4 separate regions of the Homo sapiens genome follow, and all the other regions are linked to region 1. The links are contacts of gene promoters, found by promoter capture Hi-C in human tissues and cell types (Jung and others, 2019). All regions are on one chromosome and are shown on one strand. Each heading gives the region's core, a stretch centred on a gene start or on the middle of the fragment in contact. The rest is flanking DNA. Distances are from core to core; before and after follow the strand shown. Region 1 overlaps XPNPEP3 (X-prolyl aminopeptidase 3). Region 2 holds the start of PMM1 (phosphomannomutase 1). Region 3 holds the start of CSDC2 (cold shock domain containing C2). Region 4 holds the start of TOB2 (transducer of ERBB2, 2).

Region 1 (4,889 bases), core at 941-3,440:
TTCCCAGGCTTCTCCTCATTTCTTGTTTCCTTTTTCACCCTGTCGGCACCAGACTTCATTTTAAGTTTTCTGAATACTGAGCTAGTTATGCAGCATGTAATGAATCAGCATGTGCTGCCATCTTCTGGAAGAAATAAGTACTGACTTCCTTTGTTTTAATCCATGTTAAAGCTAAATCCCTTTTATAGATCACAAAGATGATTTCTAAATCTTTTCTTTTTACTTAAAAAACCCTGTGTGTGTATGTATATATATCTACGTATGTGTGTGTATATATATATGTGTGTGTGTGTGTGTGTGTGTGTATATATCTACATGTATATAGATGGGTCTTGCTATGTTGCCCAGGCTGGCTTCAAGCAATCCTCCTGCCTCAGCCTCCTAAACTACTGGGATTACAGGCATGAATCACTACATCTGTCCCATTTCTAAGTCTAATTAGCTTTATATAGGGTAAAAACCTAGCAGCATGCTAGGTGTTCTTGAGAACTGGGGTCAAGAGAAGTGAAGTACCTTGAAGGCATTATTTTCCTTAATGTTCTTCATGATCCCCAAGTCTTTAAGCTTCTGTCCTATCAGGGTCAGCATCATGCTGTAGATGTTCTCCAAGCTTGTCCCAGGGAAGCAGAGGGCCAAACAATCTCTTTGGATCTCTAGAACGGCTTCATAGAGTTCTGCCTGAGGTGCGGTGAACCTGGGGACGGGAAAACCAAAGAACCTGAACTTAGATAATCTGATATTCTAAGAAGTTTGCTACTAAGTTTGATTAGAAAAACCCCAAGATGCTGCTGTTGCTGGGGCACTGTTGATGTTTAATAAGTACCAATCTATCAATATGGCCAGGAGCTCAATCATGTCCTAGGTGCTCAGTAGGAAGGGCAACAATCCTTCAAGCTGGAGCAGCAACACAGTCTCTTCTTCAAATGGTCAGGAGAGACATGAAGTAGGGCCAAAAGAAGCACTGAGCCATGAGTGCAGTCAGTGGGCAGATGAGGCTCAGCCATGATCCTGTTTAATCCCTTACAGCATAGACTACCATTAAAAAAAAAGGCAAGAAAGCCTAGGGACCCACTTCTGACAGGTGAAGCAGATACCATGGGATAAACTAGTCAACATCTGGGCTACTAGTAATGTACTAGCACTTAAGTGTCTTTAGAATAACAGTTTCTTTAGCAATTACGAGATAAAAAAGTGACCTGGGATGATACATGATATGTATTCTCACATACTGTTGATAGGAGTATAAATTAATACAGCCAATTACATCAAAGGCCTTAAAGATGCTCATATAACTAGAGCTTATAATTCTACTCTAATATATCCAAAGAAAATATTTGAAATTCAAAAAAGCTGAATGTACTAAAATGTTCGCTGTAATTTTATAATTGTAAATTATTAGACAAACTCTAAATGTCCCCTAATAGAAGAATGCTTAACTATAATAGCATAAGAAACCCACAGCATAATGTACCCATACCCCAGCCCACCACAGTATTACTAAATAATCATTTTTGTAATAGTTTTTTTTTTTTTTTTTTTTAGAGACAAGGTCTCACTATGTTGCCCAGGTTGGTCTGGAACTCTTCAGCTCAAACGATCCTCCTGCCTTGGCCTCCCAAAGTGTCTTTATATACACTAAAATGCATACATTTGAACGGTACAATTTTGACAAATTCATGTACCAAACCTATTGAAGCTGGGAACAATGAACTCCTAAATTCTGCTGAGTCTTCGTTGCCAGCAGAAGTGGCCCTTCCACCCCCGTCTGAGAAGGTTAACCCTGTTTTGCCTGAAAACTTGTAGGTATGTCCCTTGAGGCAGTTGCCTTGGTTCTACTAGAATTGTAACTACACTCAAGTCCCAGCAGGCTCCAAGTTAGGCAGAAAGCTTGACCCATGAGGAGGTCCACTCCACACCAAAAAGAACTGCATGAGGGGCTGGGCGCGGTGGCTCACGCCTGTAATCCCAACACTTTGGGAGGCCGAGGCGGGTGGATCACCTGAGGTCGGGAGTTCGAGACCAGCCTGACCAACATGGAGAAATCCCATCTCTACTAAAAATACAAAATCAGCTGGGCATGGTGGTGCATGTCTGTAATTCCAGCTACTCGGGAGGCTGAGGCAGAAGAATCGCTTGAAACTGGGAGGCGAAGGTTGTGGTGAGCCGAGATTGCGCCATTGCACTCCAGCCTGGGCAACAAGAGTGAAACTCCGTCTCAAAAAAACAAAACAAAAAAAGAACTGCATGAGGTTTCCAATTTCCGAAAGACAAAAATCTGGGAATGTGGGTGGGAATGAATATTTATGGTGTGGGATAATGGTAGAAGGAACACAGTTGCATCAGGCAACTTTACTGATATGGGTCCACTAATCAGAGACTCTGGATTCAACGTTGCCGCTGAAGGGGTCAGAAAAGTTCTAACAGTTTGTTGCCTAGCTGGCTGAAACACAAACCAAAAGGTAACCCACAATACATAAACACAAATGCCACAACTGCTTTGGTATACTGGAGAAGGAATTCTGCCTCAAGACTATAATATAAACCCTGCCTGAGTTTGGACTGAAGTCTGCCCTATAGATTTTGGACTCAAGCCTTATACAGACCATTTCCATCTCCCCTGAAAGCCTCCTCATGTTCATTTCTTTTTTTCTTTTTTTGAGATGGAGTTTCGCTCTTTCACCCAGGCTGGAGTGAAGTGGTGCGATCTCGGCTCACTGCAACCTCTGCCCCCACCGGGTTCAAGCGATTCTCCTGCCTCGGCCTCCCAAGTAGCTGGGATTATAGGCGCCCACCACCACGCCCAGCTAATTTTTGTATTTTGAGTAGAGATGGGTTTCTGCCATGTTGGCCAGGCTGGTCTTGAACTCCTGACCTCAGGTGATCCACCTACCTTGGCCTCCCAAAGTCCTAGGATTACAGGCATGAGTCACCACGCCTGGCCCACATGTCCATTTCTAATCAATATCCCTACTTTCCGAGGCAAATGCTATTGTGATTATTTTGACCTTAGTTTGCCAAATCTAGAACATCATATAAATGGAATCATATAATATATACTCTTTTGTGTCTGGCTTCCTTCACTGAACATAATCTATGCTCAGTGAGGGTAGAAGGTTGTCTATGCAGTACATCCATGGTGGTGCTTCAATCAGTAACAAAAAACATTCGATCAGTAATTAAAATGTTCTTTTTTATTACTGAGTGGTATTCCATTGTATGAACAGACCACAATTTGCATATTCATTCTCCTGTTGATGGACATTTTGGTTGTTATACTATTGTGAATAAATGCTGTTATGAATGTCCTTGTGCAACCCTTTTTGTTGAGAAATGTTTTCATTTCTCTTAAATACCTAGAATTTGGCTGGGCATAGTGGCTCATGCCTGTAATTCCAGTGTTTTGGCAGGCCAAGGCAAGAGAATCGTTTGAGCCCAGGAGTTGCAGACCAGCCTGGGCAACATAGCGAAACCGTGTCTCTACAAAAAAACAAAATATTAGCCAGGCATGGTGGCACGTGCCTATAATCCCAGCTACTTGGGAGGTTGAGATGTGAGGATCGCTCTCTGCCTCAGCCAACCAAGTAGCTGAGATTACAGGCACCTGCCACCACACCCAGCTAATTTTTGTTATTTTAGTATGGACGGGGTTTCACCATGTTGGTTAGACTGGTCTCGAACTCATGACCTCAAGTGATCCACTCGCCTTGGCCTCCCAAAGTGCTGGGATTACAGGTGTGAGCCACTGCACCTGGCCTTTTTACAATGTACTTCTATTCTTCCAGCTGGATAATTTCTATTTATCTTCAAGTTTGCAAACTTCTGCTGTCTCCAATCTACAGTTAAGTCTACCTGGTGAATTTCCTGTTTCAGTTAATGTACTTTTCAGCTTTAAAATTGTCATTTAAAAATTTAAAAAATTTTTAATTGTAAAACAAAACACAGATATAAAAAGCCAAACAAATCAATCAAACATAAACCTTAAGAAATTATTCAGTGGCTGTATTAAAAATACAAAAATTAGCCAGGCGGGGTGGCATCTGCCTGTAGTCCCAGCTACTTGGGAGGCTGAGGCAGGAGAACTGCTTGAACCTGGGAGCCGGAGGTTGCAGTGAGCCAAGATTGCGCCACTGCACTCCAGCCTGGGCGACAGAGCAAGACTGTGTCTCAAAAAAAAAAAAAGAAAAAAAAATTATTATAAGGTGAATACCAGTCAGATAAAACAACAACAACAACAAAAAAAAAACCCACCAAAACTTGGCAGACTATCCCAGAATACCCTTCTATAGGTCCCAGAATAATGACAATCTTACCAACAAATATCCCTCGTCCTAACTTTTTTTTTTGAGATGGAGTCTCGTTCTGTTGCCCAGGCTGGAGTACAGTGGTGTGATCTCGGCTCACTGCGACCTCCACCTCCCGGGTTCAAGTGATTCTCCTACCTCAGCCACCTGAGTAGCTGGGACTGCAGGCACCCACCACCATGCCCAGCTGATTTCTGTGTGTGTGTGTGTGTTTTTAGTAGAGACAGGGTTTCACCATGTTGGCTAGGCTGGTCTCAAACTCCTGACCTCAGGTGATCCACCTGCCTTGGCCTCCCAAAGTGCTGGGATTACAGGCGTGAGCCACTGCACCTGGCCTAACTTTTTTATTTTGGAGACAGGGCCTTGCTCTGTTACCTAGGCTAGAGCACAGTGATGTGATCATAGTTCACCGTAACCAAAAATTTCAGGGGTCAAGTGATTTTGCCACCTCAGCATCCTAAGTAGCTGGGATTACAGGTGTGCGCCACCATAGTTGGCCAATTTTTTGTATTTTTTGTAGATATAGAGGTCTTGCTGTGTTGCCCAGACTGGTTTTGAACTCCTGGCCTCAACTGATCCTCCTGCGTC
Region 2 (4,889 bases), core at 1,454-3,953, 670 kb before region 1:
GTGCAGTGGTGTGATCTCGGCTCACTGCAAGCTCCGCCTCCCGGGTTCAAGGGATTCTCCTGCCTCAGCCTCCCGAGTCGCTGGGACTACAGGTGCCGCCACTACGCCTGGCTAATTTTTTGTATTTTTAGTAGAGACGGGGTTTCACCACGTTAGCCAGGATGGTCTCGATCTCTTGACCTTGTGGTCTGCCTGCCTTGGCCTCCCAAAGTGCTGGGATTACAGGCGTGAGCTACCGCGCTCAGCCTCTTTTCCTATTTTCTAAAAGTTGAATTGCTGACTCATATGATCTGCATCTTTTTTTTTTTTTTTCTTGAGACAGGGTCTCACTACTGTTACCCAGGCTGGAGTGCAGTGGGAAGATCTGGTTCGTTGCAGCCTCAGCTTCCTGGTGATTCTCCTACTTTAGCCTCCTGAGGGACCACAGGTGCCTGCCACCATGCCTGGCTAATGTTTTGTATTTTTAGTAGAGACAGCATTTTGCCATGTTGCCCAGGCTGATCTTGACCTCCTGGGTTCAAACAATCCACCCACCTTGGCCTCCCAAAGTGCTGGAATTACAGGTGTGAGCCACCGCATCCAGCTCTACAGTTATTTTTTATTTATTTAGTTAGTTAGTTAGTTAGTTAGTTTGTTTGTTTGAGGTGTAGTCTCCCTCTGTCTCCCAGGCTGGAGCGCAGTGGCATCATCTCGGCTCACTGCAACCACCGCCTTCCAGGTTCAAGTGATTCTTCCGCCTCAGCCTCCCAAGTAGCTGGGATTACAGGCTCCTGCCACCATGCCCGGCTAATTTTTGTATTTTTAGTAGAGACGGACTTTCCCCATGTTGGCCAGGCTGGTCTCAAACTCATGACCTCAGGTGATCTGCCCATCCCGGCCTCCCAAAGTGTTGGGATTACAGGCGTGAGCCACCGCGCCCAGCCTGTTACTTATTTTCATGTGAAAAGCAAACCTACAAAGCAGGTGGTGTTCATCCCATTTTATAGGTGAAGACACAAAGCCTCTGAGAGGTGAAGTGACTTGTCCAAGGTCCCATAGTGGTGGAGCTGGGAAGGCAACCTGGAAGTGACTCCAAAGTCAACGCAATGGTTAAATAATTGTGAATCGAATCTGGGAAGGTTGGCTGGGAACGGTGGCTCATGCCTGTATTCCCAGCACTTTGGGAGGCTGAGGCAGGCAGATCACCTGAGGCCAGGAGTTCGAGACCAGCCTGGCTAACATGGTGAAAATACAAAATTACTACTAAAAATAAAAAATTAGCCGAGCGTGGTAGTGGGTACAAAATAATCCCAGCTACTCGGGAGGCAGAGGTTGTGGTGAGCTGAAATCGTGCCATTGCACTCCAGCCTGGGCAACAAGAGCAAAACTCCGTCTCAGAAAAAAAAAAAAAATTAGCCGGGCGTGGTGGCGCACTTCTGTAGTTTCAGCTACTCAGGAGGCTGAGGCAGGAGAATCACTTGAACCTGGGAGGCGGAGGTTGCAGTGAGCCGAGATCATGCCACTGCACTCCAACCTGAGTAACAGAGTGAGACCCAGTCTCAAAAAATAAATAAATAAATAAATAAATCGCCCTGTGTCAAAAATAAAATAAAATAAACATAAAAGTAAGTAAAAATACAAAAATTAGGTGGGCATGGTGGCACACGCCTGCAGTCCCAGCTACTCGGGAGGCTGAGGCATGAGAACCGCTTGAACCTGGGAGGTGGAGGTTGCAGTGGGCAGAGATCCCGCCACTGCACTCCAGCCTGGGCAGAGCGAGACTCTGTCTCAAAAAAAAAAAAAAAAAAGAAGAATCTGGGAAGGTCTCCAAGCAGGTAGACCCTGAGAGCTGGGTCTTATGTGTGGACAGAAGGAATAAGGCTCGGGGAAGGCAATTTGGCAAAGTCCAAAGCCTGAACAAAGGCCTTCAGGAGATTTCTTTTCTTTTCTTTTCTTTCCTTTTTTTTTTTTTTTTTTTTTTTTGAGGCTGGAGTGCAATGGCGCGATCTCGGCTCACCGCAACCTCTGGCTTCTTTGGAATCAAGCGATTCTCCTGCCTCAGCCTCCTGAGTAGCTGAGATTACAGGCATGCGCCACCACGCCTGGCTAATTTTGTATTTTTAGTAGAGACGAGGTTTCTCCATGTTGGTCAGGCTGGTCTCGAACTCCCGACCTCCGGTGATCCGCCCGCCTCGACGTCCCAAACTGCTGGGATTACAGGCGTGAACCACCGCGCCCGGCTCAGGAGATTTCCTACAGCTCAAAATTTGTAAGGCAAAGAGATGGCCACAAACCTTGTGAGAGTGGATGGGGAGCGACCTCGGCTCTCTTAGTCCCGCCTGGCCCACTAGACACTGCACTGCATGGTAGAGGCCCCGCCCGACCCAGCCCCTTAATCGGCCTGTTGCAATCACTATCAACCCGCCAATTCTGGCCCCGCCCCTGTCTTCCGGGTTCACCCTCTCACTTCCTGCGGGTCCCAGGCTCAGGCCCCTCCTCCGCCTTGTTTGGAGCAATCCAATCGAACCTGGAGGGCTCCGCTCCGCCCTATGCCGCGCTCCCCTCCTCCACGAGCAATGAGAATCAGCTCAGGCCCCGCCCCCGCTTCCGCCCGCCTAGACCACGCCCCTTCTTCATTTGGCCAATCAGGCAGTCCACTGGCCCCCGCCCCCTAATGCCCCGCCCCGTCAGCACTTATCCCTGAGCTGCTTCTGCCGTTGCATCTTCGGGACTCCGCCCCGCGCGCGGACCTGCAGCCATGGCAGTCACCGCCCAGGCAGCCCGCAGGAAGGAGCGCGTCCTCTGCCTGTTTGACGTGGACGGGACCCTCACGCCGGCTCGCCAGGTAGGACCCTGAAGATTGGAAGCTCCCACCGGGAGTGTCACGCGGACACCCCCGAGGCTGAGTGTGGGGTCTGCAGCAGCGTGACCGTGGACACCCGGGGACCGAGTGTGGGATGCGGCGGTACCCGGCCCCCTGACATCCGGGGCCACCCACCGGGAGTGAGGGGACCTGGCCCTCACGTCACTGACCCCGCAGCGTCCTTGCCTGTGTTCTGCTTGGGAGTGCTGGGGTTGGATCCAGTACTGGAGGGAGGAGGCTGCGAGCAGGGGCCTAGCTCCCTCCCTCCCCGGAGGCTGTCACACGCCGCTAAGGCCTGGCTCACGGACGCCCCCGCCTCCTGAGCTGGGGATCCCACCCTAGTTCAGCCCTACGACACACCAGTGGTCGGAGCTGGCTTCTGAACCGGGGTTCCAGGCACACAAGCACACAGCCAAGCGTCAGTCATCATCTGGTGGGAGACAGGGCGTCTCGGAGTCTTCCCACCCCGACCTTTGCAGGCCTGGGACTGGGTCTAGTTTCTGAAGCCCCATCACCCACTTTACCTTCCACCCCCAGTCGTGGAGCAGAGAGGGCTTCTTTTCAAATTCGTTTATGAGCTCTACCCACCCGGATGTGAGAGGCTCCAGGCCTAGCCTGTTTGCTGTGAGGACACTGAGGAATAGTGAGGGTAAGAGTCTAGTTTTCTTCTAAAGACTCTCGCTGTGTTGAGCCTCTTACCTCTGCTCAGTTTTTCTCCCATTGGGTCTCATTGTGAGTGAGTCCCCAAAAGCCCCCTCACCAGCTGGATGCATCAGTAAGCAGGCTTCATTCATGCCCTCCCTGTGGGTAACCCACCCTCCAGTCTGGGGGCCTCAAGGACCAACCAACAGGTCTCCTAGCGTGGGGGAGCAGTGGGATGGGCTTTACTGGGCAGTGGCTGATGGGAACCCAGGTCTTAGCCTCCTCTCTTAGGTCCCGAATGCCCCTCCCCATCCTCTGTGGTGAAGTTGCCCTGGCTTGGGCCCTGGAGGCCTTCCTGCAGGGGTGGATCCGGGAGGAAGATAGCAGGACTGGAGCAAAGGTGGGCCATTTGCTTGTGGGTCACGCCTGTAATCCCAGCACTTTGGGAGGCCATGGTGGGCAGATCACCTGAGGTCAGGAATTCTAGATCAGTCTGGCTAACATGGTGAAACCCCGTCTCTACTAAAAATACAAAAATTAGGCTGGGTTCAGTGGCTCACGCCTGTAATCCCAGCACTTTGGGAGGCCGAGGCAGACAGATCACGATGTCAGGAGTTTAAGACCAGCCTGACCAATATCGTGAAACCCTATCTCTACTAAAAATACAAAAAATTAGCCAGGCGTGGTGGCATGCACCTGTAATCCTAGCTAGTCGGGAGGCTGAGGCAGGAGAATCACTTGAACCCGAGAGGCAGAAGTTGCAGTGAGCCGAGAATGTGCCATTGCACTACAGCCTGGGCGACAGAGGGAGACTCAGTCTCAAAACAAAACAAAACAAAAAGTAGATGGGCGTGGTGTCGTGTGCCTGTAGTCCCAGCTACTGGGGAGGCAGAGGCAGGAGAATCGATTGAACCCAGGAGGTGGAGGTTGCAGTGAGCCAAGATTGTGCCATTGCACTCCAGCCTGGGCAACAAGAGTGAAACTCCGTCTCAAACAAACAAATAAATGAATAAAAGAACTGGAACAAAAGTGGCAGGGCCTAGGCACAGTTCTGACTCCTCCCTCTGACCTTTTGCTCCACAAACATAACAACCTGAATAAGAACAGCCTATTAATTTGTCTACGGGCCAGCCTCTGTGCTTAGTGCCTTTTGAAAGTTAATTTTTAATCGTACACATTTTCATGAGCACACTCTCCTGGTAAAGAATGGAAACGTAACAGAGAAGGGTAAAGTCCACTCTGACCGCACTTGGGGAGCCTGGCCGGCTCCCCAAGTTAATGTGGTTACTGTGGTGTGGCTTCCCTCCAGGCCTTTATCTGGATCTATTTGCCCAGAGCAAATATTAAGCATTGTTTTGTGAGGCTATTTTTGTTATTGTTCTTTGGCTCCTCAAAAATCAACTTG
Region 3 (4,889 bases), core at 772-3,271, 640 kb before region 1:
AAACCAGGACGGCACTGGGAGAGCCAAATACGCACCCCAGTCCCACCTGTGCTTGGCTGTGCGACCCTAGGCAAGTCACTTTCCCATTTTGAGACCCCCTAGAGAGAGGAATAGACTGGTCAAAGTCATACATACATACAGCATCTGAACTTGAACTCCAATCAGTGTGACCCCACAGCTTTCTGGTGTGCCATGCCAGCCCCCCAGCCCAGGAGTGTCATTTTGCTGGCTGTGGGGCAGAAGAGCTCCCTACTACTTTTAGCCTCCCATTTTGCTGCTCAGCATGGACAAAGGTCTGAACTGCCCCAAGCCCCATTCCTACAAGGCTCTGGGTCCTGGCTGCCCCAGTTGTGACCGTGGACATGACTGGCTCAGCCAGGTCCTGAGCGCCCTCTACCCCCTAGGGGGCTCTACTCCAGACTGGCTGGCAGGTGTCCCCTCCCCACCAGCCATCTGAGAGTGTCCCCAAGTCCCCCTCAGGGAATCCCCCTGCGCATCCGTGAACATTGCCTAGCCATGTCTCTCCAAGCCTGGGAGAGCCATCTGTGGCCAAAACTGTCCTCTGGCCTTTCCCAGGACACGGGCAGGCAGTTCCTGTCTATACCTGTCTTTTTTTTTTTTTTTGAAGGGGGTGAGGATGGGTCAAGATGGGCAGACACAGAAAACAGACATTTTTGGAGAAGACTTCAAGGAAATGGGGGGCGGCAGGGCAAAGCTGGGAGGAGGAAACATTCAGAATTTGGAGGGTCCAGAGGACTCTGGGATGGAGTCAGGTTTGGGAAACCAGTTCCCCATCCCCCAGAAAGCTGGAGACCCCCTTTCCCAGGGAGAGGCCCCTGCCGGATCACAGCCAGGCAGCATGATGCCAGGCTCTCAGAGAGGTTGCCCACCCCCCACTGGGCATACTTCCTCCTCTCCTACCCCAGCCCCAGTGGATGCAGCAGTTCACACTCTGTATTTATTATTGTTCTCGCTCTGTGTCCCCCTCCCCTCTCCCTGGGAAGAGCCTGCAGGCTGGCAGCTTGGCAGGAACCTGCTGTCTCCTTGTGGGTGCCAGCGTCGCCCCTTATCTCCGCCTGGACTCCTTGTGCCAGGGTCAGGCCATTCATGGGCTTGGCACCAGCCAAGGCCACCCTAAGTCCCTGTATCCCAAGATAGAGGCCTGGCAGGCCCTGACTTATCACCCCTGCCCTCCGGGGGCTGTGCCCTGGCAAGGGTGGAGGTCAGAGCAGACCAGCAGGCAGGCAAGAAGCAAGGGCTCGGGGTGGGGTGGTACCTGGGGGAAGAGAATAACCACACGGAGCCACCTCTCTAAGCCAACTAACACAATTATCCCCATCACACTGGGGAAAAAATAGAGTCAGGATAAGACAGCTGCTCCAGGTCCAACTGTCTGCCTTTCCCAGCCGGTCCCTTCCCAGCCCAACATTCCAGGGGAAGGACCAGCAAGGGTCCCTGCTGCACTCTGCTTTCAGCAACTGGAAGCGGCACTGGGGTTTCTCTGGTCAAGGCGGTCCTCTCTCCCGCTGCTTCCCAGACAGGAGGCTGCGGCTTGGCAGGTATCTGCTGCTCTCTGCCTCCTGAGCCAGACGCAGGTCCCAGACACAGACACAGACACAGACACAGACATGCTCCCACGGGAGCCACACGGCCTCACCTCATTTGGGGGTCACGGGGAGAGAATGAGGGAGGGAGAGACAGGTGGTATCCTCTATACCCCCAACACCCTATCTGTAAGCTGAACTGGGCTGATCCAGCCCCCACCTTCACGTTGTACCTCTCTCCTTCGGCCTGGCCAAAGCCACAGTTTCTGGCACAGTGTCCTCAGGCCCCATCTAGCCCCTCACCTCTCCTGGGCAGCTGGGGTCCAGGCACTGCCTCCTGCGGCGTCCGCGCTCTGTCTCTCTCTGGCTCGTGGAGCTGGCAGGCAGGGGATGGGTCTGGAAGATGTGTGTGTGTGTGTGTGTGTGTGTGTGTGTGTGTGTCTGTGTGTGCTCGCGCGGGCGGTACCTCAGCCCCTCACTCACTCACACGCCTTCCAGCTGACGTCAGGGAGAGCAGGAGGGAGGGATGAGAATTTGTACTCCCTGCTTAAAGGGACACCAGGCTCTGTGGCTCATGGCCCAGACATCACCTCCTGAGTCAGGCACTGCCAGGTGAGAGGCTCAGCTGCGTCTCTCGGGGGCCTTAAAGCTTCTTTTTTTGGAAAGTGGCTTTTATGGTCGGGCCACGGTATAATTTGCCCTGCCCAGTGAGGGCAGCTGCTGAGGAATGCAGGGGAGGAAGAACCTGAGACAGCGCCACGTTCCTGGTAATTAGAGAGCAAGTGGGGTGGTGAGTTTGAGTGTGAGTGTGTGAGTGCACACTGGGGGGCCCCTCGGGGTGGGTGGGCATGAGTGGGGGTGAGTCTGGGAGAATGGAGGTCAGAGCCAAGAGGAGCCCCCCAGAGGGGTCGAGACAAGCCAGGTTCCCAGGGACACCCAGACACTCGTCTCCCCTCCGGACGCTCAGTGGTCCTGCCCTCTGCTAGTACAGACACTGACACGGCTCATCTCTGTCTACCCCTTGTAATATTTCCATGGAATTGAATTGACGAGGACCCCAAGGAAGTGATCGGCTTGAAGGTGCACAGGTGAACACCCCACAGCCTGGGAGGCTCTGAGTAGAGAAGTAGAGAGGGCTGATTGAATTCAGGCACCCAGCCTGTTCTACACCACACGCCCTGGCTTCGAAGTGCTCCGCACTGTCAAGCTGTGTGACCTTGGGCCAGCCCCTGAGGGCCTTTGGAGGTTGAGTGTGTGATGTTCCTAAACCCAGGGCCAGCTGGAGGAGGCCTCCACAAAGGTGCTTCTCTTCGTTCTTCCCATTCCTTCTCAGCCTCAGCTTGGAAAGAAGGAAGCCTTTCCCTGGTGTCTCCTGGTACTACTGAGGCAGGCTGGCATTTTCAAAAGGAGTCTTTTTAAAATAAAAAGGAGGTGGGAGTTAAAAGGGAAACCGCAGAGAAAAATACAAGTAACTAATACAAATAGCTAAGACGCCACAAGAGCTTGCTCTGTTTCAGGCAGCAAGCTTTGCCCTCATTGAAACCTCACAACAATTTAATAATTTATTTTTATCATCCCTACTTTACCGGTGAGGAATTAGAGGCTCAGGGAGGAGGAAGGACTTGACTTGCCTATATTCTTCCAACTGGCTAGAGAGGTACTGGAACCCAGGAGCACCCAGTGTCACCACACGCCCCTGCCCTTCCAGAACCTCTCAGGACAATCAGGCTCAGACAGTCTGGGTTTCTGGTTCTGCAGGAGAGACTGTTGAGAAATGCTGCCTGTGGTTACCTGGGGATGTTCTGAATTATTATTATTTTTTTTAGAGAGTATTGCTGTGTCGCCCAGGCTGGAGGGCAGTGGCTTGATCTCAGCTCGCTGCAACCTCCGCTTCCCGGGTTCAAGCGATTCTCCTGCCTCAGCCTCCTGAGTAGCTGGGACTACAGACACACACCACCACACCCAGCTAATTTTTTTGTATTTTTAGTAGAGACAGGGTTTCACTATGTTGGCCAGAATGGTCTCGATCTCCCGACCTCGTGATCCACCCACCTCAGCCTCCCAAAGTGCTGGGATTACAGACGTGAGCCACCGCGCCCAGCCAGGGTTCTGATTTTATTTCACAGCCCCACCTGAGAACTCTACCCAGAGGAGCCTCCCTTCCCCTTTAAATTCTCCTCTCTCTTTCCTCCTTTTTATTTATTTATTTTTTCTTTTTTGAAACAGGGTCTTGCTTTGTTACCCAGGCTAGAATGCAGTGGCTCAATCACAGTTCACTGCAGCTTCCAACTCCTGGGCTCAAATGATCCTCCCGCCTCAGCCTCATGAGTAGCTGGGACTACAGGGGTGCACCACCATGCCTGGCTAAGTTTTCAAAAAATTTTTATAGAGATGGGGTCTCATTATGTTGCCCAGGCTAGTCTCAAACTCCTGGCCTCAAGCGATCCTCCTACCTTGGCCTCCCAAAGTGCTGGGATAACATCGTCTCTTCTTTCTTCTTTGCCTTCCTCTCCTCCAGCAATAATATCTTTCTTTTTTTTTTTTTTTTTTGAGACGGAGTCTCACTCTGTCGCCCAGGCTGGAGTGCAGTGGTGTGATCTCAGCTTACTGCAACCTCTGCCTCCCGGGTTCAAGCAATTCCCGTGCCTCAGCCTGCTGAGTAGCTGAGACTACAGGCATGTGCCACCACATCTGGCTAATTTTTGTATTTTTAGTAGAGATGAGGTTTCGCCATGTTGGCCAGGCTGGTCTTGTACTCCTGACCTCAGGTGATCCACCTGCCTCGGCCTCTCAAAGTGCTGGAATTACAGGCATGAGCCACTGCGCCTAGCCCCTTGCCTGCTTCTTCTGACAGCTCTATCGGGTTCGGTGGGATGAGGAAACAGCTCAGAGAGCTCGTGGGGCTCCACTGAGTCACGCGGCTCCGAAGTGGAGGAGTGCTGGAGCAGAGGCCCCAAGCCTGATCTCTGGACCTATGTTTTTTTTTTCTTTTTTTTCTTTTTTTTAGACGGAGTCTTGCTCTGTTGCCCAGGCTGGAGTGTAGTGGTGCGATCTTGGCTCACTGCAACCTCCACACCCCTGGTTCAAGCAATTCCCCTGCTTCAGCCTCCTGAATAGCTGGGATTACAGGAGGACGCCACCACGTCCGGCTACTTTTTTTGTATTTTTAGTAGAGACAGGGTTTCACCATGTTGGCCAGACTGATCTCGAACTCCTGACCTCAGGCAATCCGCCCACCTTGGCCTCCCACAGTGCTGGGATTACAGGCATGAGCCACTGCGCCCGGTGGACCTATGTTTTTCAAACACACCAACCTGCCCTCCCAGCAGAAGCGCTGGAGCCATG
Region 4 (4,889 bases), core at 1,375-3,874, 530 kb before region 1:
GGCAAGATGTAATCACACACTGGGAAGGAAAAAAAAACTTCATCACCACATGATAAATGGAGACATCAGCAGTTGAGAAGGGCGGTTACGTTTTTTCCCCTCGATTTTATCTTTTCCTACTTATATGCTAACCTTTTACCCAGAGCTCCCACCAAGGAGGCTGGATTTCTCATTTCATTCTAATGATGCTACTCAGGGCTGATGTCTTTCCAGCGTTGCAGAAGAGATTCTATTAAACGCACAAACATGCAGAAACTCATGGCCTTCCTTCCAAGGATTCAGTCCGCCCTCCCTCAACCTGTCCGGAATGGTAGAAGACGTCTACCCTCTAACTGCTTATATGTACTCCAGCTGTTCCTCCTAAGATGCCGTAGGACAACTCGCTTCAGCTCACCTTCACCTTTACCATTGTCAGAAGTTTCACATTGGAGAGTGGACACCATACTCAGCCCAGGATATGCAGGATGTGCAGAGGCAATTTGGCCCAAACACTAATCTTTAAATTAAGAATAGCAACGATTTGAGCCAGGCTTTACATACAGCATCATATTTAATCCCCGACACGAGCTCCATTTTATAGATGGGGAAACTGAGGTTTGGTGATGTCAAGCGTTTTGCTGCATTAAATCAAGATCACACAGTCGGTAGCCGAACTGGGATGTAAACCCACCTATTTACATGGCTGCCTTAATCAATGACTACAAATACCAGCATCCCTTGCCGTGCCCGCTGGCGCAAACGCACACTCCCAAGGGCCCAGTCTTAGCGGCTGGATCCTAAACCCAATCAGACACCGCTTCTCCCTTTCCCCCGACCAATGGGAAGGCTGTTGCTAACACACCGGCTATATTTTTAGCTTTCAGTGCTCTGGGAGCGTGTGGGTCGGCTGAGCCTCTCTGCCTGGTGGGAAGAGCTAGGGGAAAAGAGAGAAGGGAAGGGGAGGGGGAAAGGGAGGGTGCAGCGGGCATGTGCGGGAGGGGGCGTGTGTGTGACGCTGTCACTCGCTGACGCACAAGGCAAGTAGTCCCTGGAGGTGCCCCCGGGGTTGCGACGCTCAGAGTGTGGGGGATGGGGGGGCGCTCAGGCTATCTCCCGCCTCCCTGTCCCGGTGGAGTTTGCCCTCCAGCCCGGCATTTCTCTGTTGCATTCAGGGAAAGTGCATTTAAACCCCCCACGCTACTGGTGCTCTCCGCCCTTGCCAAAAAAAGCGATCAAGGAAAAAAAAAAAGCAAACTGTTCGTAGCTGGAAACTTTCGGATCTCGCCACCCAACGTGGGGATGGCGGCTGCTGCTGGGCCGGAACCGTCTGGAATGACAAAAAAGGTGTGGGCGGGAGGGGAGAACTGGGAAATGGGAGATCTAAGGAGGGACCGGGGAGAAGACCTCACTCACAGTCCCCCGGGGGCTCCAGACTGCATCTTCCGGCACTCCTGTCTGCCTGTGACCGCAGAACACGGCCCTCCCTCCCCCTGGCTCTGTGTCCCGCACACTCACAGAGGCAGAGCAGCCCGCGTGGCCAGAGCCGGGGGAGGGGGCCTCAGCGCGCGGGCCTGGCGCGCCCAGTCCCGGGTTCGCGGAGCCTCGCTCCGCCGCCCGAGGGGCCGTAGTGGGTGCGAGCCTTGCGCCCGTTGCACGGTCAGGGGCCACCCCACGCCGGCGGGACTGCGACTAGAAGAAATGTGGGGCTCTCCCGCGTGCCCCACACTGGGGTCGCTGGCCAGAAAGAGCAAACAAGAGTTGGGAGAGGGGCTGCGCCCGCGCGCCTGCGCAGAGCCAGAGCCGGCCCTCCAGGCTGCAAGGAAAGGAGCGCCAGAGGCGGTGAGGGGAAGGTCCTTTGTGGCACTCGGCTAGTTTCACGGCCGTCAGCCTCGTCCTCGGCTCCTCTTACTCCCGCACAGCGTGGCCCAGGCCCCAGAGTCTCCCTCGCCTTTCTTTCGACGTTGAGCCCCCCGAGGAATCACAAGGCGCTCGGAAGACTCATGCCTGCCCGAAACGGGTCCGAAATGTTTCCAGAGCCCGCGTCGTCCCCTCAGTTCCCCCTCCCGCAGAGGCCGTAACGGGGCGATGCTATCGCCGCGGACACGGCCAGACGCTCGGAGCTGGAGGGAAGGCCCCGGGAAACGGCTCGGGCAAACGTCCGAACCATGGGCTCCGAGGCAGGTGCAGGGCGGACGACTCAGCGGGGGGTTTCCGGCGGGCATGGTGACTCCCTCCCCTCCCCCGCGATACTCGTCCCCCAAACACAACTAAAGGGAGAGTGCACTGTGCCCGGCTCGTGAGCAACCCGGCCCCAGGTGGTCCCCGGCCCTCACGGAGCGCCCCTGGGAGAACACCTCACACGACGCGCACAAGTTCAGAGTGGTATGGGAATGAAGGAAAGGAGTGCGGCGCGGCGCTGTGACAGGGAGGGGAAGACGGGGAGCCGGACGCACGACCGGCGAGCACAGAAGGGCACAGGAGCTGCTCCGCGAGATACCAGCGAGCTGAGGCGCGGGGCTGGCTGGGAAGTAGTCCCGGCCGGGCCCTGGCCCCGCCCCTGCAGGGCGGAGGGACGCATCACGCAGGGGTGGGGAAGCCGGATCCGTGCGCAGGGTTGCTAAGGGTGAAACTTTTCATTGACTTTGCTCACTTCGGGCCGGGGCGCGGGAAGGTGCGGGTTGTTGGCTGAGGCAAGCCGTGGCTCGGGCGACGCGGGGCCAGGAGGGCAGGACCGTCTGCCGGCGACAGCCCATACCGTCTGCCGTTGCGCGACACGAACCACCCTCCGATCCGCCATCCCCGCGTCGTCGCCGCTAGTCCGCCCGCCCGCCCTCGGGCCCCCCGCTGCCGAGCCCGACCTCCTAAGAGCTGAAAGAAATTATTGAGAGTCATAGTCCATAGCCCCCTGCTTCGTCCCCCAACCCTCAACGACGAAAAGGACTTCGGTCCCCTGGCCCGGCGACGCCCGGGAAGGAAAGGAGAGCGACCTCCGCCCCGCGCTCAGGCCACCCTGGAGGGAGAAGCCGCCCCGCGGCCGGTAGAGCGCCCCGCCGCCGCGGAGACCCGAGTGAGTGAGTTGGGGGGCGTGCGGGCGGGGGGCCCGCCCCGAGACCCAGCCGGCCGGACTACCTCTTCCACCCCGCCCCACTCCCGCTTTGCTGGACTCTCCACGTTGCTGCCGCTCCCTCCCCGCCTGGCCAGCATTTTCTTTCCCCATCCAGCTTCCCTCCAGACCCCACTTTCCCCAGCTCCTCTTCTCACGCCATCTGTGCTCCTGGGGTGCCCAAGAGCTCCTTTTTCTCCCAGTTCCAAGAGTGGCCCTCTCCTGGGTGGGGTGCATTTCCTCCCTTCCCCGCCTCCCCCGGTTCTTTATATCCTAGCTACTCGCTAGATCTTCCTTGTTCTCCAAAGAAACATAACTCCCCCCACCGTTAAATAAATCCGAGGAAGGAAGGGGATCCAGGCCTTGTTTTTCTGCTTCTTTTCCCGTGTGCAGGGAAGGGGGGTGGTAATTGTTAATAGACTCTATTTCTGGCTCTGTGGAGCCTGAAGGGTGGAGGGTGGACACCCCCTTTGGCGACGGGACAGGTCAGTGGAGATTGTCCTTGGGCCACTGAGCCAGAGTTCACCGTTTCGGCTGAGCTCTTTATACTCTTAAGTGTTTTAATGGAAAATTGGGCAGAAAAAAGTACCCTTAGAGCAGTGCCAGTGAGTGGATTCTGCTTATCTTGGTAAGGTGCCTGCGAGGTGGGGCCCTACCCCCAAACTCCTTCCCCTCCTGTCCGGAGGATGAACTGTGCCCTTGACCACCAGAAATCTGGGAGGGGAAGGAGGGTGCAGAGAGGAGGCACAGCCGGCAGGCCCTCTCCCTCCCCCAGGAGAAACCAGAACCCCGCACAGCAAGCTTCAGCTTGGGGACGGGTGGAGGCCAGTCTCTGGTGCTACTCCGTATCTAAACGGTCTTTTTCTCCTTCTTACCCACCGTACCCTGGGAATGGGTCCTTCATCTCTGATTTTCCGGCAGAAAAACAATCCTATTGCTTTCTTGGGCTTCTACCCCCATCCCTCCGTGAAGCATAGGGGGAAAGAAGCTTGTGTGGGAGGAAGGATTAAGGAGGTTTAACACCCAGCGGGGGAGCTTGCCGAGGATCTGGTAAGTCTGGTCGTAAAGCAGACCTTGCAATGGGAGGAGACACACAGAATTTTAGTATGAGAAGATGCTCAGGTGTCAGGTGTACAGTTTTTTTCTTCTCTGCCTGGGAACCTTTTCCTATTTCCCTCTCCCGGATCTGGTTACTCAGTCTTCGATTAGAAATGGGGTGAGGCTTGGGCCCTGCTGGCCTTGGCCTGGCGCCTCCCCACAGCTTGACTGGAAATTTCTTTGGCCGAGAGGACGGGAGAACTGGGTTTGATTCCTGCCTTTCCTTTCCTGGCTGTTTGGGGTGCTGGAGCCGAGTCCGCTAGGCATTAAGTGAAAAAGATCCGTTTCCCTTTGAATCCACCGTCCATCCAGCAACCCCACACGGACCGCCCAGGCCCTGGAATTCAGATTGGGTGGGGGGAAGGGGGTCGTGACCTTATCTAAGCCAGCCCACCCCCTTCACCCAGAAAAAACTCATTAGAAGCAGATCCTAGTTTCATCAGTAATGGGAGGCGATGAAGGGAAAGGTGGGAAAGTTAGGCTCTCGTAAAGCCTAGAGGATGTGGTGGGGCCATACAATACGGGGAGTAGGCCTTTTGGGTAGAATCTACATGAAATGTATTAGGCGATGGGAGGGGGGCGCCGACCCGCCTCAGCGCGCATGTGCATCGGAAACTTTTCCTGGGCTCTTCGACCCTCGGTCGGCTCCCCTTACCGGGCATGCGTATTGCGGCCAGTTGGGCCTTCGCAAAGTGCTCAGGGAAGTGTA

What was found. Contacts are between HindIII fragments. The study calls those that stand out against the background at their distance.
Region 2: the fragment with the promoter of PMM1 here is called in contact with a fragment that was not itself captured in region 1 in 1 of the 25 tissues and cell types used here (dorsolateral prefrontal cortex).
Region 3: a contact is called between the fragment with the promoter of CSDC2 here and a fragment that was not itself captured in region 1, in 1 of the 25 tissues and cell types used here (spleen).
Region 4: a contact is called between the fragment with the promoter of TOB2 here and a fragment that was not itself captured in region 1, in 1 of the 25 tissues and cell types used here (spleen).

What each region holds. Positions count from the first base shown.
Region 1 is chr22:40,918,138-40,923,026 of GRCh38, reverse strand. It overlaps XPNPEP3 (X-prolyl aminopeptidase 3), which reads right to left. Exons shown (of 10, transcript NM_022098.4): 8 at 514-694. Among named protein-coding and RNA genes, the nearest start is that of RBX1, 31 kb to the left of the region's middle. The HindIII fragment of the contact is 3,206 bases long and covers 588-3,793 here.
Region 2 is chr22:41,587,654-41,592,542 of GRCh38, reverse strand. It overlaps PMM1 (phosphomannomutase 1), which reads left to right and starts at 2,703. Exons shown (of 8, transcript NM_002676.3): 1 at 2,703-2,824. The coding sequence starts at 2,738. RefSeq lists a silencer at 2,355-2,504 and an enhancer at 2,899-3,578. The HindIII fragment of the contact is 27,075 bases long and covers 1-4,889 here.
Region 3 is chr22:41,558,142-41,563,030 of GRCh38, reverse strand. CSDC2 (cold shock domain containing C2) reads right to left here and starts at 2,021. Exons shown (of 4, transcript NM_014460.4): 1 at 1,848-2,021. It overlaps LOC105373044 (a long non-coding RNA gene), which reads left to right and starts at 2,148. Exons shown (of 2, transcript NR_134631.1): 1 at 2,148-2,311. The HindIII fragment of the contact is 6,219 bases long and covers 854-4,889 here.
Region 4 is chr22:41,444,536-41,449,424 of GRCh38, reverse strand. TOB2 (transducer of ERBB2, 2) reads left to right here and starts at 2,624. Exons shown (of 2, transcript NM_016272.4): 1 at 2,624-3,046. It overlaps LOC105373043 (a long non-coding RNA gene), which reads right to left and starts at 2,480. Exons shown (of 2, transcript XR_938274.2): 1 at 1,393-2,480; 2 at 532-1,306. RefSeq lists a silencer at 1,493-1,592 and enhancers at 1,463-2,158, 2,163-2,412, 2,159-2,854. The HindIII fragment of the contact is 14,496 bases long and covers 1-4,889 here.